Regions from separate parts of the Homo sapiens genome. Here regions 1, 2 and 4 are each linked to region 3. The links are contacts of gene promoters, found by promoter capture Hi-C in blood cells and fetal thymus (Javierre and others, 2016). All regions are on one chromosome and are shown on one strand. The core of a region is centred on a gene start or on the middle of the fragment in contact, and the rest is flanking DNA. Distances in the headings are between cores, read along the strand shown.

Region 1 (3,046 bases), core at 8-2,507, 220 kb before region 3:
GCCATTCTCCTGCCTCAGCCTCCCGCGTAGCTGGGACTACAGACGTCCGCCACCACACCCGGCTAATTTTTTTGTGTTTTTTTAGTAGAGACGGGGTTTCACTGTGTTAGCCAGGATGGTCTCGATCTCCTGACCTCGTGATCCGCCCGCCTCGGCCTCCCAAAGTGCTGGGATTACAGGCGTGAGCCACCGCGCCCGGCCAACTTAAAACTTTTGTACAAACTTTCAACTGAAATTATTTTGATCCTAAAGATCACATAAAAAAGAAAACATCTCCTTTAACTTGTATTTTATTTCAAGACAGAGAGATAGAATATTCTGGCTCGGAGGATTCAGCAAAATGTAATTCAATGTCAATTACTGAATCTCTTCAAACCAAAGCATTTGTCAGCAGAAAATTCCCATAGGTTAACTGTAGACCTTAAAATCAGAAACGATGCAGGTAAATTACTGCACATCTACTTCTCCTGAAAATGACATTTATAGGTATTAATGTTTATATAGTGGCATCAGGAATAAAGTTAGTCATAATAACAAGCAATTGATTTCTATTTCACAAAAACGTACACTTACAGGATATTTGCATAAGTATTCACACAAGTTTCATTTGAACAATTCCAATCTCCTTAGGAAAACCTTGCTAATGTAATTTGAATACAGTTCTAAATAGATGTGAATTAACACTAAAGATGGTGACCCTACAGAATAACAGAGTGGATGTGTCATACCCTGCTCTGGTGAGGCACACTGTGCAGTCTTGTGCTTCGGAGTCAGTACCTGTAGCATTCTGCTTATGCATTAAATGCAGCAAATGCTTTGTTCCTTAAACCTGAGAATTCACTGTTCAGTTTTTACAACGAATGCTTAGAACACAAATTATAGTTCAATTCCACCTGCTTTTTTGTTTGTTTGTTTTTAGAATTTTTCTAAATTTGCCCTTTTCTGATAAATTCTTCAGCCTTGATTTCATCCTGGTCATTAAAGTGTTCAGCTACTTTGGCCCTTGGGACGGGTTTTGATTTAAAATAATCCAACCTCCCCAAATTCCCTGCAGCATGAGTGTTTTTACCTGCCAGGAGGCAGAGGCAGGCAGGAAAGAATAGACCCTGATCTTGCTCCAGACCTCACTGGAACCCTATGGAAAACCAAGGCAAGCACTCACCGGGTTCCTGAGTCTGCAGAGCCAATTCTTCCACAGCAGGGCTTTGAACTGGCACCCGGCATGCCCCATGCCTGCTGCTCCCTGCTCTCAGTCAGGAAGCCAGCCTGTAAGGATGGTGCTTATATCTGCTGGGCTCAAGTGAAGGCATGTTGCCTATTAGTCAATTCTAACAAAAGTGAGTGATGCAAGAGAGATTACTGGTGACTGAATAAAACAGGCATCAGATGTCCCCTCTTGTTCGGCATCTGCTGAGAAATCTTTTCACTAGCTGTTCAGTGTTTCAGGAGGGTTGAATTACAGAAAGCTGCCTTCAGGGACTTTCTCGGGCATACACACATACACAGAGAGGGTGCCCTCCCTTTCCGAGAACCCACAGAACTGATCTGTGCGACAAGAAGTAATGCCCACATTTACCATTTACCTCCCTTTTTTTCTGGATATTAATTAGATGGAATTTTCCTTTTTTCTTCTGAAGCATTGGTTATTACACAAATTTGCCAAAATATTTCAATTTTGGTGGTCCCATGGCAGAGAGTTTGAAGGGAAGGAGATGGAAGCAGTGTTGGTGTCTGGGGGAGTTTGGGGAATGGGTGACTCAAGTTCCACTCTGCTACTGCACCTGCACTTCATACTTCTCCTTCACCCATTTCCTCCAAAGGGATCAGGATCTACGTTTCAAATGGTATCGGGTGCAGATGTGGCAGGACTCAGCAAGTGGCCTGTGGATTACCTCTGAGTCCTGTTTGATTCCTGAACACTTGCACTTTCTAAGTGGCATGATGGATTCAGCTTGCCAGCTGGTGGCTCCATCGTCTTGGAAGCCAGGCCCTCTTGAGTTCCTGTTGCCCCCAGTTGTGGTCAGAAGGATTTCAGGCAACCCAGTCTTGTGGTCTTCTATTTCATAAAGCAATTTTCACAAGCTGTGAATGCTTGATAAATGGCTTTTGCAATAGGAAACAGGGAACACAGGCTTCAGCAAAGAAACTGACTCAATTATTTTGTAAACTTATTTGTTTAGAGCATGCCTATTTTATTTTATTTTTTGTTACATGGCTGGCAGCACTAGAGTGAAGGCCATTACTTAGCAGGATGGCGCCCAGCAACCATAAGTGGATTTGCCTGATCCCCATATGATGTTCCCCCTTGACCTGTGACTTCTCAAAGGTCTTTGGGGTTGCCTAAGTATTGCTACTCTGGTTCTCTTTGCAGATAACATCTAGAACACCTTACAAGTAATTGTCATAATTTTTAAAAATCTAGTATAAGAAAAAGCCTCCAACCATAAGGTTTTTCTCATGTTATGTTCATAGCAGCCAGTTTTTATGCTGCTATGCCAGAATTATGTCAGAGACACAAAAATTATCTCATCCATTGCTTTCATGGAACAATGCTGTGTTAGGATTTTCAGATAAACAGAACCAATGGGTGATTCATTGATCGATTGATTGATTGATTATAAGGAATAGGCTCACACAGTCATGGAGGTGGGCAAGTCCTAAGATCTGCAAGGTGAATTAGCAAGTCAGAGACCCAAGGAAGCCAATGATATAGTTCCAGTCCGAGTCCAAAGACCTGAGAACAGGAGAGCCAATGGTGTAGTTGCCATCCAAAGACTGGGAAACTTGAGACCCAGGACAAGCTGGTATTTCCATAAAGTCTGAAGGCAGAAAACAAAAAAAAGCCAATGTCCCAGTATGAAGGCCATCAGACAGAAATAATTATCTAACTTAGGGGAAAGTCAGACTTTTTGTTCTGTTTAGGTCTTCAACTAATTGGATGAGACCCACTCACACTAGGGAGGGCCATCTGCTGAATTCAGTCTACCTACTTAAATATTAATGTCATTTATAAACACCCTTGCAGAAACTCCCAGAATAATGCTAT
Region 2 (3,066 bases), core at 529-3,028, 180 kb before region 3:
TGTAAAGCTTTCTCATGCAAGATGGCTGATGTTATAACAGTAGATTATTATGCTGCAGTGTATTTTCACCAGGTAAAAAGGCTTTTTATGGTTTGGATCTTCTGAGAACATTGGAGAGTTTCCTTGCCATCCACACTACAACAAAACTTCAGGACCTTGGGCTTTGGGTTCATCACATCTCTCGGTGGGGAGATGAGGCAGGAAAATAGGGTCTGGAGGCAGTGAACATAAGGCCGATTCACACTTCAGCTGTGACAGGAAATAGCCTCTCCATAGAGTGTAGTCCAAGTAAATGACTTTGTAACTTTACTTCATCCTCTTCATTTACATAGGGCATACCCAAAGCAAAGGATATTGAAACTCCCCAAAATTTTGTAACAGGGCCTTTGAGCCCCTATGCTCAGGCCTGCTCCCACACTGTGGACTGTACTTTCATTTTCAATAAAACCCTTCATTCCTTTCTTGATTTGTTTGTGCATTTTGTCCAATTCTTTGTTCAAGATGTCAAGTACCTGGAGACCCTCCACCATTAACAGTTGGGGTGCAGCTTAGTTTTTATACATTTTTAGGAGACATGAGACTTCAATCAAATACATTTAAGATGTACATTTCTTTGGTCCAAAAAGGCGGGACCACTCAAGGTGGGTGTGCGGGGCTTCCAGGTTATTGGTAGATTTAAATATTTTCTGATTAGCAATTGGTTAAAAGACTTTATTGAAAAACCTAGGACCAATCGAAAGGAAATGTCTGGGTTAAGATAAGGGGTTGTGGAGACCAAGTTTCCTTTTTTTTTTTTTTTCAGATGGAGTCTTACTCTGTCACCCATGCTGGAGTGCAGTGGTTCAATCTCGGCTCACTGCAACCTCAGCCTCCCAGGTTTAAGTGATTCTCCTGTCTCAGCCTCCCAAGTAGCTGGGATCACAGGCGTGTGCCACCACGCCCATCTAATTTTTGTATTTTTAGTAGAGATGGGGTTTCACCATATTGGTCAGACTGGTCTTGAACTCCTGACATCAGGTGATCCACCCACCTCAGCCTCCCAAAGTGAGCCACTGTGGCCAGCCGACCAAGGTTCTTATTATGCAAATGAATCCCCCAGGTAGTGGGTTTCAAAGACAATAGATTGTAAATGATTCTTATCAGACTTAAAAAGGTGCCAGACTCTTAGCTGATTCTCTCCTGGATCAGGAAAAATGCCTGGAAAGGAAAAGGGGATTCTCTACAGAACATAGGTTTTTCAAGAGATGACTTTGCAGGATAATTTCAAAATATGGCAAGGAAATACATTTGGAGTTAAAATATTTTGATTTCTTTCATTATCTGTCATGTAATGTTATGCCAGAGTCAGGATGGAAAGCAGGCTATGTTAAATAAGCCCTTCTGAGGAGACTTTATGGTGTGTAGTGCATGACTCCCCAAACCTTTTAGGTAGGAATTTGGACAACAGAAGAAAAAAGGTCAGAGTTTAACTCTCAACACAAATAGAATAATCAAAACTCAATTGGCAAAAATTTGCTGAGCTTTGTAGAATTCCTTGTCTGAAACCTTTTCCATTGGTTTTACTTTGCCTAAACTCAACCCCTTTTGGTAAATACCAACTGTCTCCATTTGAAATTATAACAGGCAGACCTATGAAATTATTTCCAGAAAACTGTGAATCTATGGTATTAAAAGAATATGTTGAATAATTGCAACAGCTTTATAAGGCAGCCAACTAGAAACTATAATTTAGTAAAAGACTCTTTCCACAGTGACCTCCTGTAGGATGAAAAATTCTAGGACCATGGACTTCAACCAGGAGATTTTGTCTGTTGGAAATAAGATCTTTTAAAAGACTTCCTCCAGCCAAGATGAAAGGGAATTATCAGGTGCTCCCAACCAATCCTCATGCCACTAAGCTAAAAGGAATTGACTCATGTCACCCATTTAAAGAAAGCCACTTTGACCGGGCACGGTGGCTCACGCCTGTAATCCCAGTATTTTGGGAGGCTGAGGTGGGTGGATCACCTGAGGTCAGGAATTCGAGACCAGCCTGATTATCATGGAGAAACCCCGTCTCTACTAAAAAATACAAAAAAATTAGCTGGGCGTGGTAGCACATGCCTGTAATCCCAGCTATTCAGGAGACTGAGGCAGGAGAATTGCTTGAATCCGGGAGGCAGAGGTTGCGGTGAGGCAAGATCGCACCATTGCACCCCAGCCTGGGCAACAAGAGCGAAACTCCATCTCAAAAAAAAAAAAAAGAAGAAGAAGAAGAAAAAAAGAAAGCCACTTCACCAATTTGAACTTTGTCTCAAACTGGTGATCTAAAAAAATTCTCCAGAACCAACAAGAATGAGAAAAAGACAACATCTGAGATAAACAGCTTTCCTAAGACACTGGACTAATCCTGTATCTATATAAATGCTAAACATTAATAATTGTTAGTAGATGGAGAATATCTTTCTTTGAAGTTCCCACTAAATTTCTTTTTTTGTTTTTATGTCCCTAGTTCTTGGGCTTTCTTGCCACTATCAACAGTTATTGCCCATAGCAAACCTCTTCTTTCAGTGGGCTCAGGACCATGCTAGCAGATTACAGAAAAACACTTGTTGGGTATGTGGCCTCATGCCCTTCTCCAGTGGTTCTGCCTGCCATGGTGGATATCTCCTTTCCAAAGACAAGATTAGATAGAATGTCAGAAATATATCCATGTTTCTCAAGAACAGTGATCACTGCTTCATACTAGCATGACAAAGGATGACGTGCGTCACTGGCCTGTTAATAATACTATACAAAGCAAAGCACATGGGAAGAGCATTTCAGTAAAAGAGACCAATTTATTAGCTTTAATGCTGGCACTGACCCAACTGAGAGATAAAGCAACTGAATTTGGGGATGATATAATACAAATTCGGAACTGTTTTAGCTGGCTTACCTCCTCTTTTGGTCAGATTTAAGTTGGGAATGAAAGAATCACACCAAAGATACATGGCTCAATAGCACTAGAGATATGTGATGGATAACCAAGGAAATGTCTAACCACATCAGTATATCACACAGTACTGATTGACATGCCCCTGAATG
Region 3 (2,987 bases), core at 406-2,905:
TTCGTTTACAAACTGCAGTTTGCAGTTTATCCTTTTCTTGGTCACAGGCGCATTTGAAAGTGTATTGCTAATGAAATTGGAAAGTATGCATTTCCCCCAAATCTGAGATTTACTCACAACAAGCACAGTGGGGACAAAGCCAGAGGCACTGACAAGGCAGTGTGAGAAGAGCAGAGGTGGCAGCAGGCCCCAGGAGACAGGTGTGTTAGGTCAACAGCAGGCCCCTTAACCCACCACAGGGCTCTGGTTACTCACCTCATTGGCAGCAAAGTTCCAGAAAACACAGGATCCAAGGCCGGACACCCGTAGCTTGGTTCATCATTGTTCAAGGGGTCTGTGTTCCCATCTGAGAAAGAGCTTGTGCCTGAAAACGTTCCCACTCTTCTTGGTATCACTCTCTTCAGAGTGGAGAGAAAAAATATCTAGTGTTCTGAGTAAAACATTAAGTTTTCTAAAATCTCTGAAGGTTTAAATGTTGGTATAAAGAACTAAGACAACTAACAAGTGCTTTAAAAATATAAGAGAAAATGTTTCGTAATGGAGAGAACTCAGTCTGACCCGCCAGTTGCAAACAAGGAGAGGTGCAGGAGGTTCGGAACCAGATCATTCCTAGGTTCTGCCGTAAGACAGAGTGCGCCTAGTGTGTGCCTTGCCAGCCTTCCTTAGGAATGCTCTTCTGCTCTTGTGGAAGGTATCCTGTTCCCCAGTGCAGTTGTGGACAGTTACAGCTTTTTTTTTTTTTTTTTTTTTTTGAGACAGAGCCTCGCTCTGTTGCCCAGGCTGGAGTGTGGTGGCACGATCTCGGCTCACTGCAACCTCCGCCTCTCGGTTTCGAGCAATTCTCCTGCCTCAGCCTCCCGAGTAGCTGGGACTACAGGTGCGTGCCACCATGCCTGGCTAATTTTTGTATTTTTAGTAGAGACGGGGTTTCACTATGCTGGCCAGGCTGGTCTCGAGCTCCTGACCTCGTGATCCGCCCACCTCGACCTCCCAAAGTGTTGGGATTATAGGCGTGAGCCACCGCGCCCAGCCAACAGTTACAGCTTTTTATTCTCAGACTTCTCTCAGCTTCCATGTACAGTCTCTCCCTTGAGTAGTGATCTGTTTCAGGCAGCCACAAAGATCCCTACCTAAAACACACTTTTGTTTTGTTTTGTTTTGTTTCATTTTGTTTTTGAGGCAGAGTCTCACTCTATTGCACAGTGGTGCAATCTCGTCTCACTGCAACCTCCACCTCCTAGGTTCAAGCAATTCTCTCGCCTGAGCCTCCTGGGTAACTGGGATTACAGATGTGTGCCACCACACTTGGCTATTTTTGTATTTTTAGTAGAGACGGGGTTTCACCATATTGGCCAGGCTGGTCTCAAACTTCTGGCCTCAAGTGATCCACCCACCTTGGCCTCCCAAATTGCTGGGATTACAGACATGAGCCACCACGTCTGTCAAAAGCACACTTCTTAGGAAGGAATTTGTCTGACAGTGTTAGGAAAACAAAAGCTGTTTCTGCTTGGGAAAATGTTACTGGAGTTTGGATTTTTCCCTCTGTGTTTGATGTGTGTCCTGATAAGAGGTCACAAGTACAGAAGCTGGAAGCATTAAGCTCTATTTCTTTGTCTTCCAGAGGATGTAGGAAGAAGCTGGTCTGCTGACTGTCATACTTGTGACCAGCTTGCACAGGACATGGCCGAGGAGGCAGCCCAGAACATTTCTGATGACCAGGAAAGGTGAGTTATCACTGTTCTCAGAGGGTTTGGTAAGCTTGATTTTAAAGTATGCATTCAGAAATTTTCTTTCAAAAGTCATCACCTCTAGGATGTGGGCTCACTCTGGCACGAGTGGAGGCCCTGTACCAGGAGGGTGCATTTGGCCGGCGGGGTCAGTTCAGAGGTTGGAGTTGGTGTTGAGAATGGAGTTTTTTCCTGAAGGCTTTTGAGAAGACTCCTCCAAGCGGATGCCTTCAGCCATGAGAAGTGCTGATTGCTCTTCCTGCAAATGCAGGATACCTTCCAAGTTCGAGGACTTTCTGCTGCCTGGTAGTAGACAAAGTTAAGCTATCTGCTTGTCTGCTAGGTCCCTTGCATGGAGACCAGGAGAAACCTGGCACAGGAAGAGATCATGGGGTCTTGGCCCAGGGGTCTTATTTCTTTTTTTTTGAGACGGAGTCTCTCTCTGTTGCCCAGGCTCGAGTGCAGAGGTGCGATCTTGGCTCACTGCAAGCTCTGCCTCCTGGGTTCATGCCATTTATCCTGCCTCAGCCTCCCAAGTAGCTGGGACCACAGGCGCCCACCACCACGCCCGACTAATTTTTTGTATTTTTAGTAGAGACGGGGTTTCACTGTGTTAGCCAGGATGGTCTCGATCTCCTGACCTTGTGATCTGCCCGCCTTGGCCTCCCAAAGTACTGGGATTACAGGCATAAGCCACCGCACCCAGCCTCCATGGGTCTTATTTCTAAACCCTCTTCCCCATGCTCTGTGCGCGCCAGCACCCATGTGTTGTTGAGGCTGGGCAGCCTGTGTGCTCTGCTGTTGACTGTCTCATGGCAGTGTGACATGGTGCAAACCTCCATGCCCCCTTTCCTGGGCGTGAGGCCAGCAAGGTGACCTGCCTGTGGGATGTGGTAAGGACCCAGGTGGGTCACCGCTGTCCCCTGGCCTGGCATGATGGGAGCCTGTGCCTGCAGATCTTGCCCAGTGGGGTACCCCGCCACTGCAGGTCACTTTACCTCCTCACCCCCAGATTTCTCATCCTGAAAATCTGAGTACCCCTGTTGTCACATCTGTAAACTCCAGAGGGTCGTTATAAAAATCAGTATCCTTGATGAATGCTTGCTGTCAGCATTTCTGCCTTTGTTAGCTTACTGTCTTTGTGCCATCACCATCATTTTATCAAAGAAACCCAAAGCAAACCAGGATGAGAAAATGAGGCTGCACGTGTTGACGGGGTTGGTCACATTCATGCTTGGAAATTTCTTTGCCTTATGTCAC
Region 4 (2,867 bases), core at 113-2,612, 240 kb before region 3:
TCATATCCCATTGCAGTAATCCTTCCTTGTAAGCAGATCTAAATGTGACCAGATGAGTGGCCTAAAGCCATGAAGACAAAACACAGGTGTAAAAGAGTTTTTCCATCCCTGGTATAATTAAAGAAGAAAAGAAATCACCCTCTTTGGCCGGGCACGGTGGCTCACACCTGTAATCCCAACACTCTGGGAGGCCGAGGCAGACGGATCACTTGAGGTCAGGAGTTCCAGACCAGCCTGGCCAACACGGTGAAACTGCATCTCTACCAAAAATACAAAAAAAAATTAGCCAGGCATGGTGGCACACACCTGTAATTCCAGCTACTCAGAAAGCTGAGACAGGAGAATCACTTGAACCCGGGAGGTGGAGGTTGCAGTGAGTCGAGACTGCACCACACTGCACGCCAGCCTGGCAACAGAGCGAGACTCCGTCTCAAATTAAAAAATTAAAAATAAATCACCGTCTTTGAAATATTCCACGAGGAAGTATTTCTTGTGACAAAAAGTGCATCATGATTAAAAAGTTCTCTGACACAGTCCTGAAACCTAGTTTCACACATTCTGATAACAAAGAAAATGCCTGCAGATCACCCTCTGGTTCAAGGGACCACAATTAAACTATAAAGAAAGGTCAAGGACGCTCAGGAGATAACTACTTATTTAAGTCATTTTGGTCATTCTTTGTAATAAATTAATAAGTTACTGGAGTATTGGGGTAGGGAGGTGGTGGGGGAAGATTCCATCATTAATTCTGACTGAATATAAGTAAGCAAAATAAAAAATATACCTCATATTAAATGATAACTTGATAGCATTAAGAATAATAAACACATAATTTTCTTGGGTTTTTTATTCTGTTTCATTTTTAATAACATACAATAGCTATTTTTTAAGACAAGTAGTTGTATAAAAAACAGAAAATGGTTTATAGAACCAAGACTCATATAACTTTTGACATTATAAATATGTAAATAAACATATGTATGGTTAAGAAATTTTAAAAGTACAGAAAGATTATAACCACTCTCCTATAGGATAAACTATCTATTTACAAAATACATGTATATGTATAACTAATGTGTTAGAACCAATTTTCCATAACAGCACTTATAGTTCTACCTTGCTACTTTTAAAGGCTACATAATATTCCACCGTAGGATTTAATTTATTTAACCAATCACTTCATCATGAAAATTTGCATGTTTTTCTATTTGGGGCCAGTGATATCATGAGGTTGTTTTTCTTTTATCAATTAAAGTGGTACTTACTTAGAAGAGAAGCATTTCTGCTTGAAATTGAAAACTCTCTTAGGAGTGTTTCTAAATTTTTTCTATTACATGACACTATTGAAATATTACAACTGGGAAAATTTTGCTCAAATTTGCAACAGTTTTCTTGAAAAGGTAAAGGCCATCAAAGTCAGACATATGTGTAGCATGAATTTTGGTCCAAAACACCAAATATATTACTCTATTATAGTTGATTACAGATAACAAGACAGCAACATACTAAAACCAATGCACATTATGAAATCAAGTAGATGCAGTTCAATGAATCCCAGCTTTTAACTTCATGAGGTTTTTTTTACATATTTGGCTGACTTTTGTAAGTAGATCCGTGAGGTACCATTGCCAAATGGGATTACTGCACTGAAGTGTATATGATTTTTAATGTGGATTTTTAATTTGGATAGATGTAGTGAAAATGCCCTCATTAAAAACTAAACCAATTATCATTTACTCTGATTGCACTCTCAATAGCACCTAGGATTAACAAACTTAATTTTTTGTCAAGCTGATATGCAAAAACATAATGATAACTTTAGTTATTAAGATCAAGCATTTTTCACAAGTTAAGCATATAATAATTCCTTGCATATTAACTCTCTGTTCTTCCAGTTGCCTATTTTTCTATTAAGTTGTTCTTTATTTTTACAGACTTACAAAGCATCATTTTGTATTTAATTTTTTAATTAAAGAATTCAGCCTTTTCATGGCTTATGGTATTACAAATACTTTCTCCAACTTTGTATTTGCCTTTTTATTGTCTAAATCTTTCATGCCATTAATTTATCAATCCTTTTATTTATAGTATCTGGATATTGTTCCCTTCACATGAAGACAACATCATTTAAAGGACCCTGCCAAAGCCAAATTAAAATAGTAGTAACTCTAAAATCACAAATATTTTTCAGTCCAGTCTTAAAAATCCACATCCGATCTCTAGTTTCAAATGAAAATATTATTGGAAGAAAATAAAACCTTGAATCTTATCGTTGAGAAGTTTCTCTAAGCATCTTGAAATAATAACAGAATTCCAATTAAACCTAAAAAACAACATCTCAGAGTGTTTTATTTACAAGGTGGTCACTGACCCTTCTGAAAATCACAAGTGAAAAAATATCTTTCATTGTTCTGAATTTGAAGTTGCTCCATTCAAGAGAAAAGTAGCCAGACACCAGTTCTGCTGTGTCATTTTCCATTGTGTGTGAGTGGCTTTCATAAGACTATTTCTCTGCAGGGGTGCAAAGGCAGCCTTCCCTTTCTCATCACATTTTTAATCACGTTTTTCTTCTTATATGTCATTATTATCCTCGAATCTTGCTTAACATTTTGAATCTTACCCCTGTTAAATAGGAATGCTGTCTGATTAATGCTAGGGCTTCACCGTATCTCGCACATCTCAGACCTTCCATTGCTGACTTCTTAACACCAGAAAGTGACCCAATCAGAAGCAGAAACTGGCACTTCTGCTGTCCAAATGCGCTGGCACAGATGCTGCCACAGGCTCTCCTCTCAAGAAAAATAACCGTCTGGTAAACCTATTAGCAGTTAACAAAACAATGCCCCCACTACCAAACCACCACAAAG

What was found. Contacts are between HindIII fragments. The CHiCAGO score rates a contact against its expected background, and 5 or more counts as called.
Region 1: a contact is called between the fragment with the promoter of ABCA13 here and the fragment with the promoter of PKD1L1 in region 3, in 7 of 17 cell types (non-activated CD4 T cells, activated CD4 T cells, M1 macrophages and 4 more). The highest score is 7.8, in non-activated CD4 T cells.
Region 2: a fragment that was not itself captured here is called in contact with the fragment with the promoter of PKD1L1 in region 3 in 12 of 17 cell types (activated CD4 T cells, M1 macrophages, naive CD4 T cells and 9 more); the score reaches 13.6 in activated CD4 T cells.
Region 4: a fragment that was not itself captured here is called in contact with the fragment with the promoter of PKD1L1 in region 3 in 1 of 17 cell types (neutrophils); the score reaches 5.3 in neutrophils.

Annotation. Positions count from the first base shown.
Region 1 is chr7:48,169,669-48,172,714 of GRCh38, reverse strand. ABCA13 (ATP binding cassette subfamily A member 13) reads right to left here and starts at 1,257. Exons shown (of 62, transcript NM_152701.5): 1 at 1,163-1,257. The coding sequence starts at 1,231. The HindIII fragment of the contact is 8,502 bases long and covers 1-3,046 here.
Region 2 is chr7:48,131,439-48,134,504 of GRCh38, reverse strand. No RefSeq gene overlaps it. Among named protein-coding and RNA genes, the nearest start is that of ABCA13, 38 kb to the left of the region's middle. RefSeq lists an enhancer at 824-1,431. The HindIII fragment of the contact is 3,537 bases long and covers 10-3,066 here.
Region 3 is chr7:47,947,134-47,950,120 of GRCh38, reverse strand. PKD1L1 (polycystin 1 like 1, transient receptor potential channel interacting) reads left to right here and starts at 1,655. Exons shown (of 57, transcript NM_138295.5): 1 at 1,655-1,724. The coding sequence starts at 1,681. The HindIII fragment of the contact is 5,981 bases long and covers 1-1,760 here.
Region 4 is chr7:48,188,986-48,191,852 of GRCh38, reverse strand. All of the region lies in intron 1 of ABCA13 (ATP binding cassette subfamily A member 13), which reads right to left. Among named protein-coding and RNA genes, the nearest start is that of ABCA13, 19 kb to the right of the region's middle. The HindIII fragment of the contact is 8,687 bases long and covers 1-2,867 here.